Linked DNA regions of Homo sapiens: region 2 is linked to region 1. Evidence: promoter capture Hi-C in human tissues and cell types (Jung and others, 2019). All regions are on one chromosome and are shown on one strand. Each heading gives the region's core, a stretch centred on a gene start or on the middle of the fragment in contact. The rest is flanking DNA. Distances are from core to core; before and after follow the strand shown.

Region 1 (5,945 bases), core at 411-2,910:
GCGCAAAGCCTCCTCTGGATGCAAACCCTGGGATCCTGCATACATTAGTCCTCTCAGGGAGGGCAAAAGGGGAAAAAAAGTTTGTTAAACAATGCCGCTGGACAATGTGGTGACATTACCTTGCCCGTCTTGTGATCAAACCAGACGAGAGCGTGGTTCCTTGATAGCACTTTGCAATCAAAAGTGGCATTATTCTGCGCTGGTCGACAGCGGGCCACTGAGCGGCCGATTTTGATGGGCTCGTCCAGGTAGACATGACGCTCCTGAAACGGGTGCGAGTTCGGGCGGCAAGTGAAGATGGCCAAGGCTGACGGCATCGAGGATAGACTGGGGGTGTCTCTCCTACCAGGGACAAAGAGGAGTTCCTCCGGATCCGGACTGCCCTTCACAAGCCTATGCCCCTATCCCACCCAAAATTTTAAATTAACACAAACTGCACATTGTCTAAGCATAACCAGTGAACATCAACTCTTCACTTGGGTGGGAAGACAAGCCAGCGCAAGCCCCATCACCTCCTTTAAAACGCTGCAACGCCGTGATCACAAAAAGTCCCCAACTGGCAGCTTTCAGTCCATCTTCTTCTCTGGGAAGAAAAGGCTCAAACATCGGGCAGCTTCGGCCAAGAAAACTCCTGGAACACAGTTTGGGGACTGGAGGTATCCAAGCAGATGAGTCACACGCCAATTCTTGTGTTTGGTTTGAGATCGCGGCCGCTTTTCCCCCTTGGTGGCGGAAACGTTGCAGCACTGCAGCATGAATGAAGGGTCGGTTCGGCGCGGCCAGGAAAGTCCTTTTGGGCCGAAGGAAGGTGTGGCTGGGCACCTCTGGGCAGCCACCGCCAGTCCTCGCCCGGAGTGAAGGGGCGAGAGGTGACGGAGACGGAGGGGCTCTAGACGGCCGGCGGGACAGTCTGCATCGCCCCTGCTGAGCGGAGGCCGCCCCGGGAAGGGGGACGCGGTCCCCGGCCTGGCACGATCCGAGACGGCGGTGGCTGAGGTTCTCCGCGCGAGGCGTGGAGGCCGGCGGGGCGCGGGCAGTGGCCAAGTCGGGACTCCTGGGCACCTGGCGAGCGTCCCCGCGACCAGGGCGGGGACCCGGCTCCGCAGGCCGGTGCGGACCGAGCGAGGCGCGACACCGGGAGGCTCGAGTTCCCAGGCGGCAGGAAGTTGGTCCCCGGACGCCTAGGCTTCTGGGCCGCCGCTCAGCACATGGGCCGCCTCCCCTCAGGGTCGCCCCCGCGAGGGTCGCATCTCAGGGACGGCAGCCGCAGCTCCCGGCGGACGAGAAGGTGGGGGAGGGAGACTGGCCCGGAGGTTGGGGAGAGGCCTTGAGGCCCCGGGCTGGATCCGCCGCAGCCTCCACCGATCGCGGCCGATGGGGCAAGCTCAAGCTGCGCCCGACGAGGCAGGAAACTTTCCGACCTGGTGGGGAAAACATCAAAACAAACGGCCGTCAGGCGCCTCAGCCCGCCCGCCTCAGCCGTCGCCCCCTCCAGCCAGACCCCCGCCAGCCCACACCGCTAGGCACGACCTCCGCCGACCTCTCCGCAAGCAGGCTACGAGGATTTGGAGCCAGGACGCCACGACGGGTCCTACCTCCCTAGCCGCCACCACCGCCTCAGCTTACCTTGCCAGCGCCGGCCGCCATAGTGACTCTGACTGAAACCTACCCGGTGCACCGCCACGGGAACGCGCACCCTTCAAGGGCCCTCCTACCCCCTCTCCCGCGCCGTAGTCCAGGAATGTCACGTGAACGACGCCACGGAAGCCGTGTTGGTAGAGGGCAGAAAAAAGGGCAAGGTAATTTTTAACGGGCCTCCAGGCGCCATCTTAGTTAAGGGCTGGAAGCTTCAAACCTCGGGACAACCTTAACGACCATTTTGGTTAAGGGCAAGAACAATTTGCGCCGTAGAAGGTTTTTCAAACAAACAGTGCCACCTTCTTATTTTATCTACTTAGCAAGGGGGTGCCAACTTTTACTAAATTTTATTCTGTTTAATTCTCGATGAAAATACTAGCGAGCAAAAGAACAGACCCAGCCAAAGGAGATGGTCATTAGCAGCCATCTTAGCTGTGGGCAACACAGTCACCCGCAGCTACCTTAAGTGTGAGCCGCCAAACTCCCTGAAGTCTTAGGATTTGTGCACCTAACAGAAGGACCATTCTCCCCTCTGCTAAATTCGTTATGTTTTCTTCCCGGAAAAAAAAAATCTTAGTTCCCGCATTCCATTTCGAATGACAGTCTTTCTCACTGAACCTATTATGTGCCCCCAGGGCTCCTGCGCGGATTCTTCCACAGAAGGAGCGTCCAGAAAGTTTAAAATCATGTTTCTTCCAAAGAGAGATTGAATAATTTCCAAAGTGAAAAAAGAGGGTATTTCCCCCACTTACAATATCAAGATGAGGAGTCATTGGTCTAAAGAAGGAAGACTTTGCAAGGGCTAAATGAAAACTTTAAGAAAAAATAGTGAGAAGGAGACTTACTCATTTAGAATCAAAGGTGACTTCATTCTTCAGATTCCTGCAATAACAGGCTCCACCACTGTGTGACCTTAAGCAAGTTTCTAAACTTTTTCAAGCCTCTTTTTTCTCATGGATGACATGTTAATAATAGTTAATTCACTTGATGTGGTGAGACTTCAAAATGTTAATCCATGTTGTTCAATAAAGAGTAGCAATTAGGCCGGGCGCGGTGGCTCACGCCTGTAATCCCAGCACTTTGGGGGGGCCGAGGCAGGCGGATCACCTGAGGTCGGGAGTTTGAGACCAGCCTGACCAACATGGAGAAACCCCGTCTCTACTAAAAATACATAATTAGCCGGGCGTGGTGGCGCATGCCTGTAATCCCAGCTACTTGGGAGGCTGAGGCAGGAGAATCACTTGAACCCGGGAGGCGGAGGTTGCGGTGAGCCAAGATCGCGCCATTGCAGTCCAGCCTGGGCAACAAGAGTGAAACTGTCTCTCCAAAAAAAAAAAAAAAAAGAAAGAAAGAAAGAAAAAGTAGCAGTTATTCATCTCAATACTTATATAGACAGTTTGGCCGTGTCCTAGGTTTTTGCTGGGCCCTGGGGACACATAACTGAACCAAACTTCAATTCCTGCCTTCTGAGATCATAACGGTATTGTGGGTTAGAAATGAGGGTAGGGAGTGACAAACATGAAATTGATGTAATCAGGGCTAAGATAGAGGCAGGCACTAGCTGCCCAAGGGGTCAGGGATGGTCTGGGAGAAGTAACTGAACTGAATGAAGGAAGATAGGAAAACCACAATAAATATGGTATTCGCTGAATGGTTTCATGAATTTCCACAAACACGGATAGCAAGGAAAAGAAGGAGCCTACTTGAAACAGTGCACCAATGTGCCGGCACATAATAGTGGATAAATAAGTATTTGATGCATGAATGAAAATTACATACTGTTACTCATTATTAGAGGATAAAGTAGGCGGGACACAAAGTGAGTCTGGAAAGAATAGGCATTATATAATAAAGACGTTATATTCGTTTTTCAAGCTCTTCATCAATTCAACAAATATGTGTCAAGCTACCACTGTGTTCCAGGTATGCTATTCAAAATGAGGATATGTTGGAAAGCTTTCTTATGAGAGGATGAAAAGTTTTCACTTCTGATAACTTTTAGGCTGTTAAGGAATAAAATAAGATAGGACCCTCCACAGATCCCTAATGAGTTTTTTTTGCACGAATAGCAAGTCATTTATGCATTCTTTCATACATTCATTCTATAAACATTTAATTGATACTGTGAAATAGATATTTTGAAAGGTCCTGGAAATACAATAATGAAGAAACAAAAAGACTCCCTCAAGTTGCTCGATTTAGGTGATGACACAGAAAGATCCTTGCTGTAATGGAGTATGTCAAGAGTAGTGGAAACATGGCAGAGTAGTTTAAACTGAAACTTGAAAGGATTAGAACAGCTAGTCTGATGCTATTGGGATAAAGAAATTTTAAGCTAAGAAGCAATCCCAACAAAAGTCCAGAGACTTGAGAGAACAGGACTTTAAGGGAATTGCAAGTAGGTTCGTATCACCAGAGCATAAGAGATAAGGGAAAACGAGGAGAAAGAGTGACAGAAGTGAGGTTTCAGTTGCTGAAGGACTTCTAGGCAATGCACCAGACTTCAGAACATTTCCATCTTCCTCCTAGAAGATCAAAGAGAAGTAATGAAAGTCAAGGTGCTGGAATCAGACATGGCATACTTTTACCAGCACCATAAATGGTAAATTATTTAGCTTCCCTAAATTTCAGCTTCCTTATCTGAAAAAAAAAAAAGCATATATCTACTGCACTTGACTAGTCTTTTTTTTAAAAAAAAAAAAAAGGGGTTGGGAAGGGGGAAGGAAAAAGGTAGATAATACCTTACAGAGTCTTCTTAGGATTAAATAAAACAATGGAATACAAAATGCCAACCATGGTGGCTGGGAAATAGTAGACACTCACAGAATGTTAATATTTATCATTATTGCTCATAGAAAGAATTCCCCCAGCCTTCCACATATAGTAAGGAGCAAGTTGTTTTATCTCTAGTTTGTATATAGAGAAACTTAATCATACATATGGAAACAAAAAAAGTCTGTTTATATTCAGTTCTACTATAATATCTCTTAAAATTAATGTTAAGCAGAGTGGACTTTCTTCTACAAGAAAAGCTGGGACTACTATAACATGTCAGGATAAAGAATCCTATCAAGCTACACAGGGTGCTAGAAATGCCAAAATGGCATTGAAGGCATTCTTCACCCACTGGTATTCAGCAGGCACAGAAAAGGCTTAAATTAAGAAATCTCATACATGAGATACTTTGAATTCTAAGTCATGTGGGTGTTCCTCTCTGTGATTCTGTATCCACACAAAATTTTTATTAAATAAAAAACATGTCATATTTTGAGAAATTGGGAATGGCAATGTTTCCTGATTTTGTAGTTCTCTCCCTTTTTAAGTTTCTGCCTTTTTATAGTCTGATGAGTATTGCCACTGCTATGATCCAAGCCACTTTTCAATCTTATAAAAGCAAAGACAGACTTGTAAAATTATCATCCTAGTACCATCAAAGATGGGCAATTATTAGCATTTCTGATGTGTAGGAGACAACTCTGTAAACTCTACTAATAAGCAGCCCTTTCTAATTAATAATGATCTAATTGGACTTTGACCAATGACATACACTTGGTATATAATAAATTATGGAACACTTGCATAACTGTTTCAGCAGAGTACCTGGATTGCAAATATAGGTAAGCAAACCAATTAAGAGAAAGCTGGGAGTACTCAAAGCCCAAAATTGAGAGTATATAACATTTTTAGTGGCACACACTGGCTTATTACAACTGAAGTTAGGTCCTCTTCCCACTAAGGAAAGCTCTCTTCATCAGGGAGATTCTAATGAGTGGAAATACCCTGTCATTTCCCAGGTGCCCAGGGTGGAGTAGCCCAGACATTCCAGAGGCACTGCTCATATGTTTGTGGCTTCCTGGTTATTCAGGAAATAAAAGAAAAGTAACTACCTGAAGACAAATGAAGACATTAAGTTCATTTAGCAACCTTTTTCTGTGAATATAAAAGGAGGGAATCACAATATTATAACTCCAGAAAGAATCATAGACAACAAATCCAGCTTCCACATTTTACAGGCAAGGAAATTGAGGCTCAGAGAAGGAACTTTAATGATTGTGTATTTACCATGTGGTTAGCATTTTCCTCATGACATCTCTGTGTATTAAGTATTAACCTTATTTTATAGGTAAGTAAGGAAACTAAGGCTCAGGCTCAAACATTAAGAAAAACATTAAGAATCTTAATATTCGATTGAGTGACTGAAAATAAGTCACCATGCTAGATCCAAAGTACATGCTGGGGTTTTTTCTTTCTAAAAATTATCTTTATTTTTATTTATTTATTTTTTGACAATATCTTGCTCTGTCACC
Region 2 (6,225 bases), core at 2,062-4,561, 36 kb after region 1:
ACAGGCATGTGCCACTATGCCCGGCTAATTTTGTGTTTTTAGTAGAGACGAGGTTTCTCCATGTTGAGGCTGGTCTCAAACTCCTGACCTCAGGTGATCTGCCCGCCTCTGCCTCCCAAAGTGCTGGGATTACAGGTGTGAGCCACTGCGCCAGTCCAGAGATACTAGTCTTGATCCAATACAGTTCTGTCCTGGTGGGTACAAAACCACTGAAGTTGTGTATGGGTGCCTGGGCCCTCAACTCTAAGAAAAGTGGCCATAGAACCTGCAGTTAAAGTCCCAGTGATCTAAAGGAAGTAGATGCCCTCAAAAGAGCTGCTTATATTCAAACAGAAAATGAGGCCAGTGAATATCTCCAAGCCATAAAATGATAAACCAGAGGCCATGCTTCTTCATTCAATTTTCATGGAGTCCATAATTTCCAGGATTTATGTATACTTCAAGGAGGGAGGGACACGAGAATATTGGTCATTACCTGAGACAGGCAGATGAAGCCAATGCCAAATTTAATTTGATTTAGGAAACTCAAAGTAAAGATGGAAGCTGGGCATGGGGGCTTGTGCCTGTAATCCCAGCACTTTGGGAGGCCGAGGCAGGAGGATTGCTTGAGCCCAGGAATTTGAGACCACCCTGGGCAACATAGGGAGACCCCCATCTCTACAAAAAAAAAATTAATTTAGATGGGTGTGATGGCACATGGCTATGGTTCCAGCTACTTGGGAGGCTGAGGCAGGAGGATCACTTAAGCCCAGGAGGTCGAGGCTGCATGAGTCATGACTGCACTCCAGCCTGGGTGATGGAGTGAGACCCTAACACAAAAAAGTAAAAAAGAAAGAAAAGAAAGTCTTTATGAATAAAATGGGGCTTGCATGAATCAGAGAGATAAGGAGAGAGAAAAGTATAAGAAGTAAATGAGGCCAGGTAGGGTGGATCAAACCCATAATCCCGCACTTTGGGAGGCCGAGGCAAGAGGATCACTTGAGCCCAGAAGTTTGAGACCAGCCTGGGCAACAAAGCGAGATCTCATCTCTACTAAAAAATAAGAATAAAAGTGAATGACTAAAGCCCTGGGGTAAGAAGGATCACACTGGGTCAGTGGAGCCCCGGGGAGAGGAGGAAAAGTATCAGGGAAGGCTAGGATGGGAAGTTAAGCCAGATAGGATGGAACTAGATTATGGAGAGCCTTGAAACTGGGGAAAAGGAATTTAATGTGATGGCAATGGGAATGGATTGGTAATTAAGGAAAATTAGAACATGTTTGATGTGGCTAAGGATGTGAGAACCTGATATTAGGAAGACTGACTTTCTGAATTGATGCATTAATTTGAACCTCAAGAGATACAACGGTGGGACCAGCAATGGAGAAGAGACAGAAGGAATAGAAATGAGAGCTGTTCAAGGGAAAAACTTACACATTTTGTGGATATGGAAAGTGAAGAAGATGAGCTACATGTGGGTGGTTTCATCCTTTGAACATTACAGGCAGGCATGTAAATACTTAGTAAATTGAATCAAAGTTAAAACCCAAAAAGGAGTGGGGAATTGGAGACAAAGAACCAAATTTCCCATCACTATATCAGCTGAGGATTTCCTTTCTATGCCTGTATTTCTACAACAATGATAATATTTGAAAATCTTTATGCTTCTCTTCATCTTGTCACCATTCTAGTCCAAGCCATCGTTGTCTCTCATCTGAATTATTGAAATTGCCTCTCAAAGTCTTCCCACTTCATTGTTATTTTCTCCTCCTCTGTATCAGGGTCCCCAAGACCACCCCCAGTTTCAATTATTTACTAAGGAGATTCACAGGACTCAGAATATAGTCATACTCACACCTGTGATTTATTACAGCAAAAAGATTCAAAGCAAAATCAGCAAAAGAAAAACTCATATGGGGCAAAGTTCAGAGGAAACGAGGCCCAAGCTTCCAAAGGTTCTCTTCCACTGGTATCACACGGGACATGCTTAATTCTCCCAGCGGCCAGGAGCAGTGGCTCACACCTGTAATCCCAGCACTTTGGGAGGCTGAGGCAGGGGGATCACCTGAGGTCAGGAGTTCAAAATCAGCCTGGCCGACATGGCGAAACCCCGTCTCTACTAAAAATACATAAATTAGCCGGGTGTGGTGGCAGGCACCTATAGTCCTAGCTACTTGGGAGGCTGAGACAGGAGAATCACTGGAACCCGGGAGGCAGAGGTGGCAGTGAGCCAAGATCACGCCATTGCACTCCAGCCTGGGAAATGGCTGTCTCAAAAAAAAAAAAAAAATTCTCCCAGCAATGGGTTGTGACAATACAAGTGAAATGTTGCCAACCAGATAAGTTTGTTAAAGACCCAGAACCCCAGGATTTTTTTTTTTTCTTGAGACAGAGTCTCACTCTGTCACCCAGGCTGGAGTGCAGTGGCACAGTGGTACGATCTCAGCTCACTGCAACCTCCACCTCCCGGGTTCAAGCGATTCCCCTGCCTCAGCCTCCTGAGTAGCTGGGATTACAGGTGCCTGCCACCACGCCTGGCTAATTTTTGTATTTTTAGTAGAGACGGGGTTTCCCCATATTAGCCAGGATGGTCTCGATCTTCTGACCTCGTGATCCACCTGTCTCAGCCTCCCAAAGTGCTGGGATTACAGGCGTGAGCCACTGCGCCTGGCCACACCCCAGGATTTTATGGGAGCTAGTTGCATAGGCACCCGCTGCCTATGCAAAATGTACCAAAATTCCTGATTCCTCACATGTACCAAAATCCCTGATTCCGCAAAGGAAAGCAGGTGTTCAGCATTACTGTGGTCTGAATACTTACATCCTTCCAAAATTCATATGTTGAAAACTTCACACACAAGGTGATGTTATTAGGAGGTGGGATCTGTGGGATGTGATTAGGTCATGGGAGCAGAGTGGGATTAGTCCCCTAATAAAAGAGGTCTGAGAGAGACTCCTCATCTTTCTACCATGTGAGGACTCAGTAAGAAGGTACCTTCTATGAACTAGACCCTCACCAGTCACTGAATCTACCAGTGCCTTGATCTTGGACATCCCAGCCTCCACAGCTGTGAGAAATAAATTTCTGTTGTTTATAAGAACAGAAACGGTTTATGCTATTTTGTTTTATCAGCCTGCATATAGACTAAGATAAGCATAAAGCACAGCATTCATACAGTTTAGACACAATGAGCCATTCTTGTCAGTTGGGTGGTGTAAACCCTCCCAAGATCCAAGTTCCAGCCAAGGACCACCCTTGTAAGTTGGACTTTCTTTTTGTTTTTTTTTTTTGTTTTGAGATAGGGTCTCACTCTGTTGCCTAGGCTGAAATGCAGTGACATGATCATAGCTCACAGCTGCCTTGAGCTACTGGGCTCAAGCAATCCTCCCACCTCAGCCTCCTGAGTAGCTGGGACTACAGGCATGCACTATCACTCCTGGGTAATTTTTTTTTTTTTTTGAAACAGAGTCTTGCTCTGTTGCCCAGGCTGGAGTGCAGTGGCACAATCTCGGCTCACTGCAACCTCCATCTCCTGGGTTCAAGCAATTCTCCTACCTCAGCTTCCTGAGCAACTGGGATTACAAGTGTGTGCCACCACACCCAACTATTTTTTGTATTTTTAGTAGAGATGGGGTTTCACCATGTTGGCCAGGCTTGTCTTGAACTCCTGACTTCAAGTGATCCACCCGCCTCAGCCTCCAAAAGTGCTGGGATTACAGGTATGAGCCACCACACACAGCCCTGGCAAATTTTTTGTAGAGATGTGGTTTCATCATGTTGTCTAGGCTGGTCTCGAACTTCTGGACTCAAGCAATCCTCCCACCTCAGCCTCCCAAAGTGCTGGGATTACAGGTGTGAGCCACTGCCCCCAGCTAAGCTGGATTTTCTTTTTCTTTCTTTCTTTCTTTTTTTTTTTTTTTTTTTGAGATGGAGTCTTGCTCTGTTGCCCAGGCTGGAGTGCAGTGGCACAATCTCAGCTCACTGCAGGCTTTGCCTCTCCTGAGTTCAAGCAATTCTCCTGACTCAGCCTCCCAAGCAGCTGGGATTATAGGCGCATGCCACCACACCCAGCTAATAATTTTTGTTTGTTTTGGCCCCCACCACTATGCCTAGCTAATTTTTTGTATTTTTGGCAGAAACGTGGTTTCACCATGTTGGCCAGGCTGTTCTCGAACCCTTGACCTCCTGATTCGCCCACTTCGGCCTCCCAAAGTGCTGGGATTATAGGCATGAGGCACCGCGCCTGGCCAATTTTTGTATTTTTAGTAGAAACGGAATTTCACCATGTTGGCCAGGCTGGTCTTGAACTCCTGACCTCAGGTGATCTGCCCGCCTCGGCCTCCCAAAGTGCTGGGATTACAGACACGAGCCACCACGCCCAGCCTAAGCTAGATTTTCAAAGGATTGCTATTGGACCTACTATTAACCATATTCTGCACACCTTCCAACCTATTATTCAGCCAATAACTAGAGCGAATCTTCTTAAGATATAAACCAGATTATATATGTTAGACTAAAATTCAAACTCTTACCATGGGGCACAATTCCCTGCATGACATTGACATTGCATTCCTCTCCAAACCCATCTCTTGCCAACTGTCCTCAGTATCACCTTCTAGCCACACTGGCCTCTAAGTTTCTAGAACATTATTGTCCAATAGAACTTTATGTGATGCACCTATAATCCCAGAACTTTGGAAGGCCGAGGCGGGCGGATCACGAGGTCAGGAGATCGAGACCATCCTGGCTAATACAGTGAAACCCCATCTCTACTAAAAATATAGAACTTTATGTGATGATAGGAATGTTCTTCTGCACTGTTCAGTTGTCTGTTGGTGTTCACCAACCATACATAATTATTGACCACTTGAAATGTGGCTAGTGCACCTGAGCAAATGAATTTTTAATTTTTTTCTTAATTTTAATCAACATAAATTTAAATAGCCAAATGTGGCTAATGGCTATTCTACTGCAGTTCTGGAACATATTATTGAGCTTTTCCTATTTTAAGGCCTTTTGTTGTGTGGGAAATTACCCTGATGCAATGGTAAACTTCAATTACACTATCAGGCAGGCTATCCCAAAGATCAAAGGACACAAGGTCTTACAGACCAAATTAAAATGCTTGAATCACATACAGTTTATTAAATCAACTTAGTCCAGGCATGATGGCTCACGCCTGTAATCCCAACACTTTGGAGGGCCAAGGTGGGTGAATCACTTGAAGTCAGGAGTTCAAGACTAGCCTGGCCAACATGGTGAAACCCCATTTCTACTAAAAATACAGAAAAAAAATTAGCCAGGCATGGTGGCACATGCCTGTAATCCCAACTACTAGGGAGGCTGAGGCAGGAGAATCACTTGAACCTGGGATGCAGAGATGGCAGTGACCCGAGATGGTGCCACTGTATTCCAGCCTAGGTGACAGAGCGAGACTCCATCTCAAAAAAAACAAAAACAAAAACAAAAAAACAACTTAAAACATACAGCAAAAAGCAAAAGGAAAGAAATGGGGTAAGTTAACACACAATTAGGGAAGGGTGCAAACAACATAGAAGGTTCACACTACATAAATCCTGGGTTATGCAATGTTGGTATGACCCTTCTCTGTTGGCATCAACCTCCTCTGTTGATGGACCAAAGTTGACGTTTAAGCAAAGGTGCCCACAGACAGAAGGTGCCCTGAGTCAGTGGCATACACTTGTTCTACCAGAAGGACTCAGGAGGAACACGTACACCTGGCCTACAGCAGTCGCTTGCCAATTAACTTGCCGAACAACTATGGGTTTTACTCAGGTTATGAGTTTGTGTTTTTTGGGCAGAGGACACATGCACCAGAATAGTTATTACCAATGAGTAGTTGAATTAAGACTTCATAAATATTAAGTGTTCATGTATATTTAGTGTATCCTGAATGTTAAATGTCTCGTATATATTTAACTTCTCATGAATATTTAGCGTCTAGGTCCCTCATGCATATTTATGCCTCATGAATATTATTTTTGGTTCTTTCATTTCTTTTTATCTACATTTAAAACACACATGCTCTATCCACTAATTACTTATCTATATTTAACTCATCTTAGGAGTTTCCTCTATCCCATTTGTTTTTTATTTTTTCCTGCAGCATAACTCAGTATTCTCAAACAGTATGACAAATGTACATTTCACCTCTGCACACATTTCTGCTCTGTAGTGACCTTCCTCTGGCTCCTATCATAACAAGTTCCTGTAGGTGTTTTCGGT

What was found. Contacts are between HindIII fragments. The study calls those that stand out against the background at their distance.
Region 2: a contact is called between a fragment that was not itself captured here and the fragment with the promoter of SLMAP in region 1, in 1 of the 25 tissues and cell types used here (pancreas).

Annotation. Positions count from the first base shown.
Region 1 is chr3:57,752,024-57,757,968 of GRCh38, reverse strand. SLMAP (sarcolemma associated protein) reads right to left here and starts at 1,660. Exons shown (of 25, transcript NM_001377540.1): 1 at 1,627-1,660; 2 at 120-1,421. The coding sequence starts at 317. RefSeq lists a silencer at 923-1,202 and enhancers at 750-1,651, 1,573-1,752, 1,783-2,062, 1,652-2,554, 5,186-5,945. The HindIII fragment of the contact is 9,488 bases long and covers 1-5,945 here.
Region 2 is chr3:57,717,146-57,723,370 of GRCh38, reverse strand. No RefSeq gene overlaps it. Among named protein-coding and RNA genes, the nearest start is that of DENND6A-DT, 27 kb to the right of the region's middle. The HindIII fragment of the contact is 6,101 bases long and covers 261-6,225 here.